Regions from separate parts of the Homo sapiens genome. Here region 1 is linked to region 2. Evidence: promoter capture Hi-C in human tissues and cell types (Jung and others, 2019). All regions are on one chromosome and are shown on one strand. Each heading gives the region's core, a stretch centred on a gene start or on the middle of the fragment in contact. The rest is flanking DNA. Distances are from core to core; before and after follow the strand shown. Region 1 holds the start of POGZ (pogo transposable element derived with ZNF domain). Region 2 overlaps PI4KB (phosphatidylinositol 4-kinase beta).

Region 1 (7,316 bases), core at 810-3,309, 140 kb after region 2:
CCCCCAAATTGTACGTTTAACCACCTTCAAGTTACTTTTTATGCACCCCGAAGTTGAGAACGATTGTGCTAACAGTTCGAATTCAGAGTTCAAGCTCTCAGACCCTGAGCAATAGTGTCTCAAAATTAATCGTTTGCCAACGAGCAGCCCTCCCTGCCCCCTCCGTTTCCCTTTCCTCTAGTTGGGTAAATGCCTACAGAAGTAAAACCCGGCCGGGCGCGGTGGCTGACGCCTGTAATCCCAGCACTTTGGGAGGCCAAGGCGGGCGGATCACCTGAGGTCAGGCGTTCAAGACCAGCCTGGCCAACATGGTGAAACCTCGTCCCTACTAAAAATACAAAAATTAGCCGGGCGTGGTAGCACATGCCTGTAATCCCAGCTACTAGGAAGGCTGAGGCAGGAGAATCACTGGAACCCGGCAGGCGGAGGTTGCAGTGAGCAGAGATCGTGCCACTGCACACCAGCCTGGGCGACAAGAGTGAAACTTCGTCTCAAAAAAAAAAAAAAAAGTAAAACCCCATTTCTGTGGAGTTTTGAGCGGCGGTAAGAGGTGTCTACGGGCTTGGAAGGACGGGCTACACCGCTTGCATCAAGACGGCGGCTGCTGTGAGATAGTCCAACTGCATCTTAGTTTCCATTTCGAAAATGAGACTGGCCACTAAATGACTCTAAGGACTCATCAGCACTACCTTTTTCTGAACTAAGAATGTCTAAGACAAGTGCTACTAGCAGTTTGAGAGAATCCCACATCTGGAGAGGAAGGAAATAAGAACAACACGCAGAAAGACGGAAAACAAATAGATCAATGACAGTACTCCTTTGCAAAAGGTGCCAAGAATCTAAATAAAATAGTCCCCGGGATAAACATGGCGCCCACCGCGGCAGGACATAATCACCAGAAAATAAAGATTCCCCGCCTCATTCCATTTTATAAATCACGGCGCCATCCCAAAAGAAATTTGGGGACCGAGGGAGGAGACTTCGTAAACTAGCTGCAGTGCACTAAGGCTTAGGATGTACTATTAGACCAAGCAGAGATTACATAACACAAGGGATCGGCTCAGCAATCACTCATTTTCCTCCTCCCGCTCAAAACGAGCGCCCCACTCCTTCTCGGAGCGGGAATGGGGCGGGGAGGGCCGCGCACCCCCACCCCCAGGGGCCGCTCCGCCGCCGCCCGCCCCTCCGCCGCACGGCCTCGCCCCCTCGCCGGCCCCTCCCGCCGCGCCCCGCCGTCTCGCCACCGCCCGCGCCCCCGCCCCCGCCCCTTCCCCAGCGGGCCACCGCCCGCGCCCGCGCCGCCCACTCCTCCGAGACGCCTCGCGCCGAGCGTGCGTGTGGACGTCGGGCTGTGTGCGGGGCCGTGGGGCGCGAGTGCGCGCGCGCGCGCCGCGGCGGGCGCCGGGGGGCGGGGGCGGCCGGCCAGCCGGCAGGCAGGGACCTCCGCCGCCGGCCCTTCGCGCGGCTCCCGCGGCCCGGGGCGCACGCACACACACTCGCGCTCGCGCGCCGCACCCCGCGGCCGCCCCTGCCGCGGGCCGCGCCGCCACTCGCGGTGGGCGGGGGCGCGCACCGCCGGCCCCCCGCCCCCACCCCCGCGCGTACCGGCCCCATCCCCCTCTCATTGTCTCGCCTCTGAACGCCTCGCCGAGCGAAAAGATAACGGAACCCCCGGGAGCAGGGGGTGGGGAGAGAGAAGGCTCGCTCGCTCACTCACCTCCTGTGGTCGTCGCCGCCGGTAGTCTGACCCGAGGAAGGCGCCGTCGCCTTAAAGGGACCTTACACCCGGCGCCAGAAGGGGGTGGGAGCAGGGGGAGGGGACGGGGGCTTGGGGGGAGACGAAGAAGAGGTAACCGTTGAAAGCTCGTCTCCCCAAGGGTGAAAGGAAGCCTCCCTCGGGTTCGAGTGATTCGGGGTGGATTTTTTTCCCGAGGGGGGCGGGGGGGCCCCGAGGGAGGGGGGTGGGGGGGCCAAGGAATGCGGCTCCGTGTACGGGAGCTGGCGCGGGGGAGAGAGACGCCGACTCCCCCCACCGACCCTCTCGCCCCGCGGAGGGATACGGCTCGTCACTTCCGCCCTCCCCTTTTTCACGGCCTCCCAATTGGTCGGAGCGCGCTGCACGTCATGGGCTCATCCAAACCCCTGCCCGGGCTTCTTTTCTAGTCAAGTTTGGCTGGGCCTGCAAATAAATAAATAAAGGAAAACATTTTTTGTAATGAAAAAAGAATAATTAGCTTCAGAAGCTATATCTAAATTTTGGTGAGAAAAATGAGACTTCCAAAGAAAATATTCCCCAATTTACTTGCCAAGAGTTTCCAAGGAAGTGTTGGGAGGCTCCCCCACTTTCCACTCAAGGCTTAGACCCAGTCAAGAGGGAGACTTCATGACACAGGCCAGGTGGTGAGGCCCAGTGGCACCAACAACTGTCATTGGAACAAAGAACAAAATGGCACTCACTCTTTCTCAAGAGACACTCGGCCAAGTAACCTTGTGGCTGCGGCCTTGTTTAAGTGAAGAACTTTTAAAAGCCATTTTGATCCTCAAGCCCTTCTGGATCCTGGAAAGAAGTGGCACACGATTGTTAAAGCGATTATTGTGATGGAAACTGCTTTGCTCCCATTGTGAGTAGATTCAGCAGAGATCCCCAGTTCCAAGAAACCACACACACTCCACATCCTTATGCTTTTTGCTCCAATCAAGGCTGAGATGGGTTGGCTCAAAGAAATTGGTTAGTCCACTCAAACGACCATCCACCTGTTTATTCTTCCCCAGACAAAAACTACCTCTTTTCAGGTAGCTAAGAAATTTTGTCCTTTATTGCCTTCTGAGATTATAAAAATGTAATATTTTCCTTGAATATTTGAAAATGTTTGCTATTTAAGCAATACACAAATATTTGCTTCAAACCAAATGTGAAATCAAGGTACTTGGTGCAGAAAGGGGAAATCCAGAACTATGTTTATTTGTGCTCTTTATATACACACTCCATTCAAACCACCAGACTGAAAATAGGCAGTGGAAGTAGGCATTCCAAATTGTATGCACCTGCCCGTGTGAGTGTGCACATGTGCATACACATACACACACTGCCACCACCCAGTTTCATTCCATTTCATACCAAAACCATGTGAGTGATTTCCACTAGTGTAGGATGCTTAGGAAGGACTTCATTATTTGAATGAGAAGAATCACTAAATCCTTCTGAAAATACTTCTGAAGACTTTCCAGACCTGATCTGGAGAAGCCCATATTAGGATTATGGGATCAATCACCAAAAGACTACATGAAACTCAAATCCTATTTTATACTGTCGTGTAATTAGTATAATTCATTATATATGTTATATTTACATTATGTATATTACGTTATTAACCTTTGAAAAATTCCAACATATTTCCCCATGCCCTGTCAATTTATTCTCCCAGCCAATGAGATCTAGCGCAGACTATGCCATATACCGTTGACCAGTAACTGTTAGCATGCTTTATTGAAAATGGATCATGCATCCATTCATTCATTCAATGAATATTTATTGGGGGCTGGGCATGGTGGCTAACACCTGTAATCCCAACACTTTGGAAGGCCAAGGGAGGAGGATCACAGCAGTCTGAGGGCAGCCTGGGCAACTTAGCAACATCCCATCTCTACAAAAAAAAATTTTTTTTTTTTAAACAGAGTCTCGCTCTCTCCCCCAGGCTGGAGTGAAGTGGCGCGATCTCGGCTCACTGCAACCTCCGCCTGCTGGGTGCAATTCTCCTGCCTCAGCCTCCTGAGTAGCTGGGACTACAGGCGTGCGCCACGATGCCTGGCTAATTTTTTCTGTTTTTAGTAGAGACGGGGTTTCACCAAGCAGGCTGGTCTCGAACTCCTGACCTCGTGATCTGCCCGCCTCCGCCTCCCAAAGCGCTGGGATTACAGGCGTGAGCCACCGTGCCTGGCCCCAAAAAATTTTTTTCATTAGCTGGTTGTGGTATTCCTAGATACTTGGAAGACTTGGGAGGATCACTTGAGGCCAGGAGTTTGAGACTGCAGTGAGCTATGATGACACTACTTGCACTCTAGCCTGGGAGGGACAGAGCAAGATCCTGTCTCAAAAAAAAAAAAAAAATTATTGAGCACATGTACTAGGCACTGTTTTAGGTGCTGGGAATACAGCAGCAACAACAACAACAAATACCTGAATCTGTGGGATTTATACTCTAGAAGGAAAGAGACATAAAATATACACATAAACAAATTGTTCTATTGTCTATTGTTAAATAACAAATGACCCCGAACTTAGTGGCTTAAAACAACAATTTCATTACCTCTCATGGTTCTGGGAGGTAATTAGGCTCAGCTAAACAGTTCTCACTTGGGAGTCTCGTATGCAGTGGCTAGGGCTGAAGTAATCTCAAAAGCTTCCTTACATGTCTGGAAGTTGAGGTTGACTGTTGGCTTGGACCGCAGCTGGGGTTGTTGGCAGACCATTTACAAGTGGCTTCTCCATGTAGCCTGGGCTTCCTCATATCATAGTGGCTGAGTTCCAAGACTGAGTGCCCCAAAAGGACCAGACAGAGATCGTGACCTAGTCTCAGAGGTCATATAGTGTTACTTCCATTACAGTTACAGGATGGAGAGCATAGATCCCCATCTCTCAACGGGAATAGTGGAAATGTCACATTGTAAGAAAGTGTGCGGAAAGGGAAATCTTGTGGCCATCTTGGAAAATGCAATCTGATATACATTATGTAAATAAATATGGATTATATGAAATGGTGATAGGTGCTATGAAGGGTAAAGGGCAGGATAGGGGAATTAGGAGTGTGGTGCAGACATGGGGGTGGAGAATTTGCTATTTTATGTGGGGTGATTGGAGAAGTCCTTGTTAAGGTGACATTTGGGCAAAGACCTGAAGAAAGTGAAGCAAAGTTTAGGTTTTACCTGTAGTGAAAATGAAGCTGCTGGAGGATCATAAAGCAAGTAGTGACACGGCCTGACTCACGTTTTTAAAGGATCACTGTGGCTGCTTGTGAAGAATAACTAATAGAGGCAAGGGCAGATGCAGGGAGACCAGATAGAAGGCTATTGCAATAATCCAGGTGAGAGTTGATGGTAGCTTGGACCAGGATGGGAGTTGTGAAGCTGCTGCTTCAGGTGATTGAGTTCTGTGGTGTGTTACTTACTCCTCTCTATTTTTCTGTCATTTAGTTTGTGCCCTGGGAGACAGTTTTGACCCATAATGCCCAATAAAATGAGTGATGGTGCTATGCCTGCCACCAAGAATACAGAAAGTCTATCATGCTAAATGTAAAAGTGGGAGTTTTGCAGGATCTGGAGGCACCTTTGAGGAAATGGGTGAGGAAACAGAGGGTAAAGATCAACAGGCAATTAGGGAATGGAGTGTCTTTTGACGTTGTAAAAGGTATCCTGGCCAGGTGTGGTGGCTCATGCCTGTAATCCCAGCACTTTGGGAGGCCGAGGTGGGTGGATTACAAGATCAGGAGTTTGAGACCAGCCTGGCCAACATGGTGAAACCCCATCTCTACTAAAAATACAAAAATTAGCCAGGCGTGGTGGCACATGCCTGTAGTCCTAGCTACTCAGGAGGCTGAGGCAGGAGAATCGCTTGAACCCGGGAGGTGGAGGTTGCAGTGAGCCGAGATCACACCACATCACTCCAGCCTGGGTGACAGAGTGAGACTCCATCTCAAAGAAAAAAAAAAAAAAAGGAAATGATGAGCAAAGACATTTTATACCTTCAGAAGATTTCAAGGAAACTCTGCCACCTTACATTACAACACTGGTGCAGCACTTCAAAAGAGACTATACAGTTAACACTGCTATTTCCAGAAACGTATTCCTTGTGCTAAAGAGAGAATGCTCATATTAATTTGGACAGTGTTGGAACATTTTGCTTCTTCAGCTAAAACACAGGTTTCCAGAGTGAAGTAACAGAACTGATAGCTTTGGTCTCTCTTTTGGACCATCTGGATAATGGTTTGAACCATCTTGATGATGATGGGAAACCCAAGTAGTAGAACAAATAACCTGAATCAGATCCTTAGAAATCAACTCGTATGTGCCTCTGTAACATACTGGGGAGGAATCTGAAAGCCAATCCAGTCTGATATGTTGAAGAAATTTGATCCTAATAGTGGTACTCCTAAAAATTATTCCAGTCTTCAGTAGCCAACTTAGAAACTTTTTCTAAGAAAGAAAGTCAAAGGTTAATGGATGTCCCAAGCTGAGCTTTTCAGTTACATAGCTGGAGAGTGTTTCTTTTCTACAGTTTATGGAAATACTTACTTGCTTCCTTGACTTACGGTTTCTGCCACAAGTTGAAAATTGGGGCTGGGCACGGTGGCTCATGCCTGTAATCCCAGCACTTTGGGAGGCCAAGGCAGGCAGATCACCTGAGGTCTGGAGTTCAAGACCAGCCTGGCCAAAGGTCTTTAGTAGAGATGGTGAAACCCCATCTCTACTAAAAATACAAAAAATTAGCCAGGCGTGGTGGAACGCGCCTGTAATCTCAGCTATTTGGGAGGCTGAAGCAGGAGAATCACTTGAACCCAGGAGGTGGAGGCTGCAGTGAGCCAGGATTGCACCGAGCCAGGATTGCACCATTGCACTCCAGCCTGGGCAAGAAGAGTGAAACTCCATCAAAAAACAAACAAACAAACAACAACAACAAAACATACAAAAGAAAATTGGAACCACCTGTAGCTTGGAGAATGTTAAAGAAGAGAGACAAATGATTTCAGCATGTCTTCAAAAGCATTGAGTCATGGATGCCCTCGGTGGCATCATTTTGCTAAAATGCAGACCTAATCACTTATTGTTCAGGTTCAGCGTGAGGTTGACTGGTATGTGTTTGGGCGGGGAGTAGGGAGGCTCAGATGGTGAGGTTAGTCCAGGCAGAAATAAGCTTCGTGGGAGATAATGCCAGATTTCTTTAAGAAATGGGTAACAGCCGAACACGATGGCTCACGCCTGTAATCCCAACACTTTGGGAGGCGGAGGTGGGCAGATCACAAGGTCAGGAGTTTCAGACCAGCCTGACCAAAATAGTGAAACCCCGTCTCTACTAAAAATACAAAAAATTAGCCGGGTGTGGTAGTGCATGCCTGTAATCCCAGCTACCTGGGAGGCTGAGACAGGAGAATTGCTTGAACCTGGGAAGCGAAGGCTGCAGCAAGCCGAGATCACGCCACTGCATAGCATCCCGGGCCACAGTGTGAGACTTCGTCTCAAAAAAAAAAAAAAAAAAGAAAGAAAGAAATGGGTATCCCACTCTCTGTAATGCACACTCAGGATTGTCAAAGCTGGAACCTCAA
Region 2 (6,691 bases), core at 3,608-6,107:
CTTTCCATTCTAACATTCCATGCTTTTATCAGTGAAATGAAACAGGGAGGACAGAAAGAACAGCGTAACCCTGTGTGTATATAGGAGGCATCCTGTCTCCATGCAGCCCTCTACCACCTTTTGTCTCTGGCCCTCCCCAGAATTTTACCTCATCCTCATTCTCCACTTTAGGGTTGCTGGCTGTTCGTTTCAGGTTGCTGCTGAGACTTATGCTGGCAGTGGCATCTGACTTAGAGCGCTGGTGAGTCCTTTTGGAGGGAGACAGCCCTGTGTCAGGGGCCGGGCTCAAGGAGGGCAGCTCCCTCTTCCTGTGAGCTGGCTTTAGCTCATCTGAGAGGATCAGCTTCCGTAGCTTGGTCCCACGGGAGTGTCGTTGAGTGGAAATGTGCATGTCTGAAGAATAGGCCCCAAGCAACAGGGCACACTGGAGGGAAAAGTTAATGCTCTGGCGGCAACGGTGGACTATGTAGGGCTTAATGGCATCACCCACGTCCTCATCCATGTGGATGTACATGTTAAGCAACTGGGGCAGATAGAAGTCCACGTCCTCGTTGCGAAAGCAGAAGAGCCGGTTGCCAATGTAGGCTTGTACTCCAGGCTCCTTGGAGTTATACAGGTATGAAATGGCCATGGAGATGTCAAACAGTTTTGACTCAAACAGCCTCAGCAGCCAAGACTGTTTAGCTGAGTTGTTCTGCCGCCGTCTTCTTGCTCCTTTGGCTGTGCCTGAGGCCACAGCGGCCCCCATCTCATCTTCCTCCTCCCTGATCTGGGCAGGTGGATCATCTAGGCAACGGATCTCACTGTCCACACCATCCCCATTGACCAACTCCAGTGGGGTGCCTCTGCTAGAGACTGCCACGCCTCCATGCAAAAGCTTGACTTTCTCCAACACCTCCTGGCAGGCCTTCTGGGCCACCTCAGGGTCAATCACTGATAGTTCCCCGACCCCCTCCGTGATGACACTTAGCAGGGACCCCCCATTATTCCCTGGTGGGCCAGAAGTGGGCTCAGAAGTTGGCTTCAAGGGGGCAGGCTCCACTACTGTATCTCCCATGGCCACAGCCAGACTTCGAGCTTCCAAGCTACAGGAAGAGGGAGGGAGAAAAGAACAGAAAGGGAGACACATACACACATTGGTTAGTGGTGCCATCCTCAGATCTTCCCTTTGCTATGACACCTTCCCAGGCACCTCCTCTTTTTGTCTTCCTGGACTCCTTCAAAATCAGATAAGAAGACATATCCTAGGAAGCTTTCCTGACTACCTCCACTTCTGATTACATTACTCGTCATTCCTCCTGTAGTTACTCAGCTTAGCCTCTGTTCTTAGCTTATATATGTGAAATGTTGTTTTGTATATGTTGTATTTATATAGATTTACAAATTCTTTTTGTTGTTGTTGTTGTTGTTGTTGTTGAGACGGAGTCTCGCTCTGTCACCCAGGCTGGAGTGCAGTGGCGCAATCTCAGCTCACTGTAAGTTCCGCCTCCCGGGTTCACACCATTCTCCTGCCTCAGCCTCCCAAGTAGCTGGGACTATAGGCGCCCACCACAACGTCCAGCTAATTTTGTTTTGTATTTTTAGTAGACACACGGTTTCACCATGTTAGCCAGGATGGTCTCCATCTCCCAACCTCATGATCCACCCACCTCGGCCTCCCAAAGTGCTGGGATTACAGGCGTGAGCCACTGCACCTGGCCTACATTTACAAATTCTTTTTTTTTTTTTTTTTTGAGACAAGGTCTTGCTCTGTTACCCAGGCTGAAGTGCAGTTGAACAATCTGGGCTCATTGCAACCTTGACCTCCTGGGCTCAAGCAAGCCTCCCACCTCAGCCTCCCAAGTAGCTGGGACCACAGGTGCACACCACCATGCCTGGCTTATTTTTAAATTTTTAATCTTATTATTTTTGAGACAGGGTCTTGCTCTGTTGCCCAGGCTGGAGTGCAGTGGCGCGATCAGAACTCACTGTAGCCTTGATTTTCTGGGCTCAAGCAATCCTCCTACCTCAGCTTCCCAAGTATCCAGGACTACACGCATGTGCCTCCATGCCTGGTTAATTTTTTAAATTTTTCTGTAGAGACAAGGTCTCACCATGTTGCCCAGCCTGGTCTTGAACTGAGCTCAAGCAATCCTCCCTCCTCAGCCTCGTAAAGTGTTGGAATTACAGGCATGAGCCACCATGCCTGGTGATTTACAGATTCTTCGGGTAGACTGAGAAGCAAGTCAGGTGTTACTCCCTTGTTCCCTAACTCTTCAAATACTTTTCTATCCACTTGCTCTTCCTGTCTCCCTTTAAATGCCTGCTATAACCTTTTTATTTTCCACTTTAGACTATATTTCCTTACTCATATAACATTCTACACACAGGTCCTGTGCATCTCACCTTTATTTTTATTTTTTAGAGACAAGTCTTGCTCTGTTGCCCAGGCTGGAGTGCAGTGGCATGATCATAGCTCACTGTAACCTTGAACTCCTAGGCTCAAGGCATCCTCCTGCCTCAGCCTCCCGAGTAGCTAGGACTTTAGGTGTGTGCCATCATGCTCAGCTAATTAAAAAAAAATTTTTTTGTGCAGATGGCGTCTTGCTGTGTTGCCCAGGCTAGCTTTGAACGCCTGGCCTCAAGCAATTCTCCTGCCTCAGCCTCCCAAAGCACTAGGATTACAGGTGTGAACCACCTTGCCCAGCCATCTTTATTTAATATTAAAGTCTTGGCTAGGCGCAGTGGCTCACGCCTGTAATCCCAGCACTTTGGGAGGCCGAGGTGGGCAGATCACGAGGTCAAGAGATCGAGACCATCCTGGCCAACATGGTGAAACCCCGTCTCTACTAAAAATACAAAAATTAGCCAGGCGTGGTGGCAGGCGCCTGTAATCCCAGCTACTCAGGAGGCTGAGGCCGGAGAATTGCTTGAACCTGGGAGGTGGAGGTTGCAGTGAGCCGAGATTACGCCATTGCACTCCAGCCTGGAGACAGAGTGAGACTCTGTCTCAAAAAAAAAAAAAAAGGCCGGGCGCGGTGGCTCACGCCTGTAATCCCAGCACTTTGGGAGGCTGAGGCAGGCGGATTACCTGAGGTCAGGAGTTCGAGACCAGCCTGACCAACATGGAGAAACCTCGTCTCTACTAAAAATACAAAATTAGCTGGGCGTGGTGGCGCATGCCTGTAATCCCAGCTACTTGGGAGGCTGAGGCAGGAGAATCGCTTGAACCCGGGAGGCAGAGGTTGTGGTGAGCCGAGATCGCACCGCTGCACTCCAGCCTGGGCAACAGAGCGAAACTCTGTCTCAAATAAATAAATAAATAAATAAATAAATAAAATTAAAGTCTTGATATATTTTTCTGGTTACAGGTATTTTTTTACCTTCCCTTTTAAACTCGAAGTTCCCAGAAAATAAAGGCCAGTAAATACCATGCCAGGCTTCACTTAGAAGAAGGCAGCTCTAAAACAACCATCATCAACCCTGCTGAAGCTGTGCCGTTTCTCTGGTTGTCTGACATCATGACATCACACCCTCTTTCTCCAGTGCCGTGGCTGCTAACATATAATGGAAAGAGCTCTGGACTTGAAGGCAAATAGGCTGGGGTTGAAAATCCTCATTCAGCCTTTCAGAAATGTGCAACTTATGCAAGCCATTTATCCTCAACTGCAAATTGGGAAAAAACACTTCCTTCTCATTGTTGCTATGTGGAACAAATACCATCACGTGTATGAAAGAATCTAGCACAGTCTTTGATACATAGTAGTACTCAATATATGCTAGTTGAGGCCGGGCACAGTGACTCATGCCTGTAATCCCAGTGCACTGGGTGGCTGAGGCAGGTGGATCACTTTGAGGTCAGCAGTTCAAGACCAGCGAGACTCTGTCTCAAAAAAAAAAAAAAGAAATGCTAGTTGAATCCTCATCACCTAAAAGGTTACTAACCAGTGTGTGTGTAACATAAAACTTATATTATTTTATAAGGGAAGCAAAGAGTTCCAATTGTTTGAGAATCTTCCAGAAATACTTATGACAGCCTTTTCTGCCCCAATACCACTCCCCCCACTGTCATACACACATTCTAACAACTGGAGGGACAATTGAAAAGGCAAAAAGAAATCAGACTAGGACTCATAGATCTAGGCCTTCCAAAGAACAGGGAGGAACAGGAGTCACAAAACAAAGAACACCTCCTCTGGAGGGACTGTTGGAAGGAAGTTCAATGAAAGAACACTGCTGACCAAAGCCACTGCTCTCCAAGAACAATCCTTCAGAGCCTCACCAAATCTGGAATCAGTGCAGAACTGGGGAAATTTCATCAGATCAACCTGGCTCCAGAATCTGACTATAGCTAACAAAGGACTCAGACTCAGAGGCCTCTTCACAAAAATGCTAATAGAGTGAGTCTAAGACACACTCAAGAGCATGAGCAAGAGGAAAGATTTTGTAGAGTTGGAATACAGGTAATTTCAAAATATTAGTGACATCACCTTCAACCCCGGTGACCCTGGATGCATATACTTTGGGTAGGTGGAATAAGGAGGCCTAGAGATTCTTTAGTCCCTCTGGGAGGCTGTTTTCCACCACCACCCTTCCAGTGTCTGTTCTTGTACGTCTGAAATGTTAAGGTTACTTTTTTTTTCTTTTTGAGACGGAGTCTCGCTCTGTCGCCCAGGCTGGAGTGCAGTGGTGCAATCTTGGCTCACTGCAAGCTCCGCTTCCCGGGTTCATGCCATTCTCCTGCCTCAGGCTCACAAGTAGTTGGGACTACAGATGCCCGCCACCACGCCCGGCTAATTTTTTGTATTTTTAGTAGAGGCAGGGTTTCACCATGTTAGCCAGGATGGTCTCGATTTCCTGACCTCGTGATCTGCCCACCTCGGCCTCCCAAAGTGCTGGGATTACAGGTGTGAGCTGCCGCGCCCGGCCCCAGGTTACTTTTAACTGCCCAATATCATATAGTCCAGCTCCCTGCCTCCCAGCAGTCACCACTAAAGTTTTGCAGAAAGACGGATGGGGAACTCTTCTGTTCTCAGAGATCACCAAAAAAGGCTATTTCTGTTTCTTTCTGCCAACTCTGCCAAGCAAGTTCATTCCTGAATTTAATATCCCTGATGCAGATTGAGCTTGGTATTGGTAAGAAGGTGGCAACTCTTTCACTATGCTCTCTCCCAAAATTAGGTAGTGCCCTCTGAGCAGTAGAACCAGCATGGCTGCCTATGTGGATCTGTCCCTACTCGCAACTGTGAGTTGCACAGGAATAATAAGAAGGAAGCTTTAATCATTCCCTGCCACACCTTCGTAGGGCACTCTCATCAGAGGGTCACCGATTCAACGGGGACCACTACCTTTTAGGTCTGCTTAGAAACTCATGTGATAGCCTCAATCATCTTAAACAATCAACTTCTTTTTCTCAGTCTCTATGTTTGGTACATCCTTTCCTCTCCCTCTAGTCCACAGACTTTTAAGTCACTGAAAGCTCCTAGAAGTACACTTTTCAAAACTTTCAAGGGAAATACAGTTCAGACATTCTCCCACATAATAGTGTCTCAGACCTCACTAGAAAATTTAGCAGATGCCTGCCCCAATTAACTACGATTGGGATTATTACTGGCACCAGGAAGGCAAATAAGGATACTATCACCTCTTTTATCTCACAGACAAAAGAAAAACTCCCAGGGCTCAGCTAAGAATCACATCACAGTATTCAGAGGATTTTGCTACTGAACAGACTCTCCCTCCCGGCAGCTTTTACTCCTCAGGGAGCTAGACAGTGTTGAGAGGTGCAGGAAAAAACAGACTCCTCTCCTATATAAGCAGCTCTACCACTAGAAACCACCAAACTGGAGCTGGGTCTCTTCCCTGGCCTCTCAGGAACCCAGGCACTGCCTGCATCTGAAGCAAGTCATATGGAGAAGAAGGTGTTGTAGGGAATAGGGTTAAATTGCTTTAGCTATTTATTATTACTATTATTTTTATTTTATTTATTTTTTTGAGACAGAGTCTTGCTCTGTTGCCCTGGCTGGAGTGGAGTGCAGTGGCGCAATGTTGGCTCACCGCAACCTCCGCCTCCCAGGTTCAAGCGATTCTCCTGCCTCAGCCTCCCAAGTAGCTGGGATTACAGACACCCGCCACCATGCCCAGCTTGCTTCATTTAGTTTTGAATGCCAAGAAAATATGCCTTTGTGGGCAGGGCATGGTGGCTCACGCCTGTAATCCCAGCACTTTGGGAGGCTGAGGAGGGCAGATCACGAGGTCAGGAGATGGAGACCATCCTGGCTAACACAGTGAAACCCCGTCTCTACTAAAAATACAAAAAATTAGCCGGGCATGGTGGTGGGCACCTGTAGTCCCAGCCACTTGGGAGGCTGAGGCAGGAGAATAGCATGAACCCAGGAGGCGGAGCTTGCAGTGAGCCGAGATCACACCACTGCACTCCAGCCTGGGCGACAGAGTGAGACTCTGTCTTAAAAAAAAAAAAAAAAAAAAGCCTTTGAGGGTAACTGTTCTAAAGAAAATGAAAGGACTGGAAAGCAAAAGAAAAGGTGAAGGAAAAAGTCCTGTATTCAACAGCCTTCCCCTTCTAAGTCAGAGGAATAAGAAAAAAGTGACGGAAGACAATCTAAATTTTTAATATTAAATGACTCCTATGGCCTTCAAGGGGGTTCAGACAACTGAGGCTCTACACTTCACACTGGGAACCTAAATTCTC

The links. Contacts are between HindIII fragments. The study calls those that stand out against the background at their distance.
Region 1: a contact is called between the fragment with the promoter of POGZ here and a fragment that was not itself captured in region 2, in 1 of the 25 tissues and cell types used here (lymphoblastoid cells).

Annotation. Positions count from the first base shown.
Region 1 is chr1:151,457,435-151,464,750 of GRCh38, forward strand. It overlaps POGZ (pogo transposable element derived with ZNF domain), which reads right to left and starts at 2,060. Exons shown (of 19, transcript NM_015100.4): 1 at 1,718-2,060. RefSeq lists silencers at 1,161-1,210, 1,401-1,450 and an enhancer at 2,281-2,330. The HindIII fragment of the contact is 8,213 bases long and covers 1-5,653 here.
Region 2 is chr1:151,315,425-151,322,115 of GRCh38, forward strand. PI4KB (phosphatidylinositol 4-kinase beta) reads right to left here. Exons shown (of 12, transcript NM_001369623.2): 2 at 149-1,085. The coding sequence starts at 1,057. Among named protein-coding and RNA genes, the nearest start is that of PI4KB, 8.6 kb to the right of the region's middle. The HindIII fragment of the contact is 7,586 bases long and covers 1,065-6,691 here.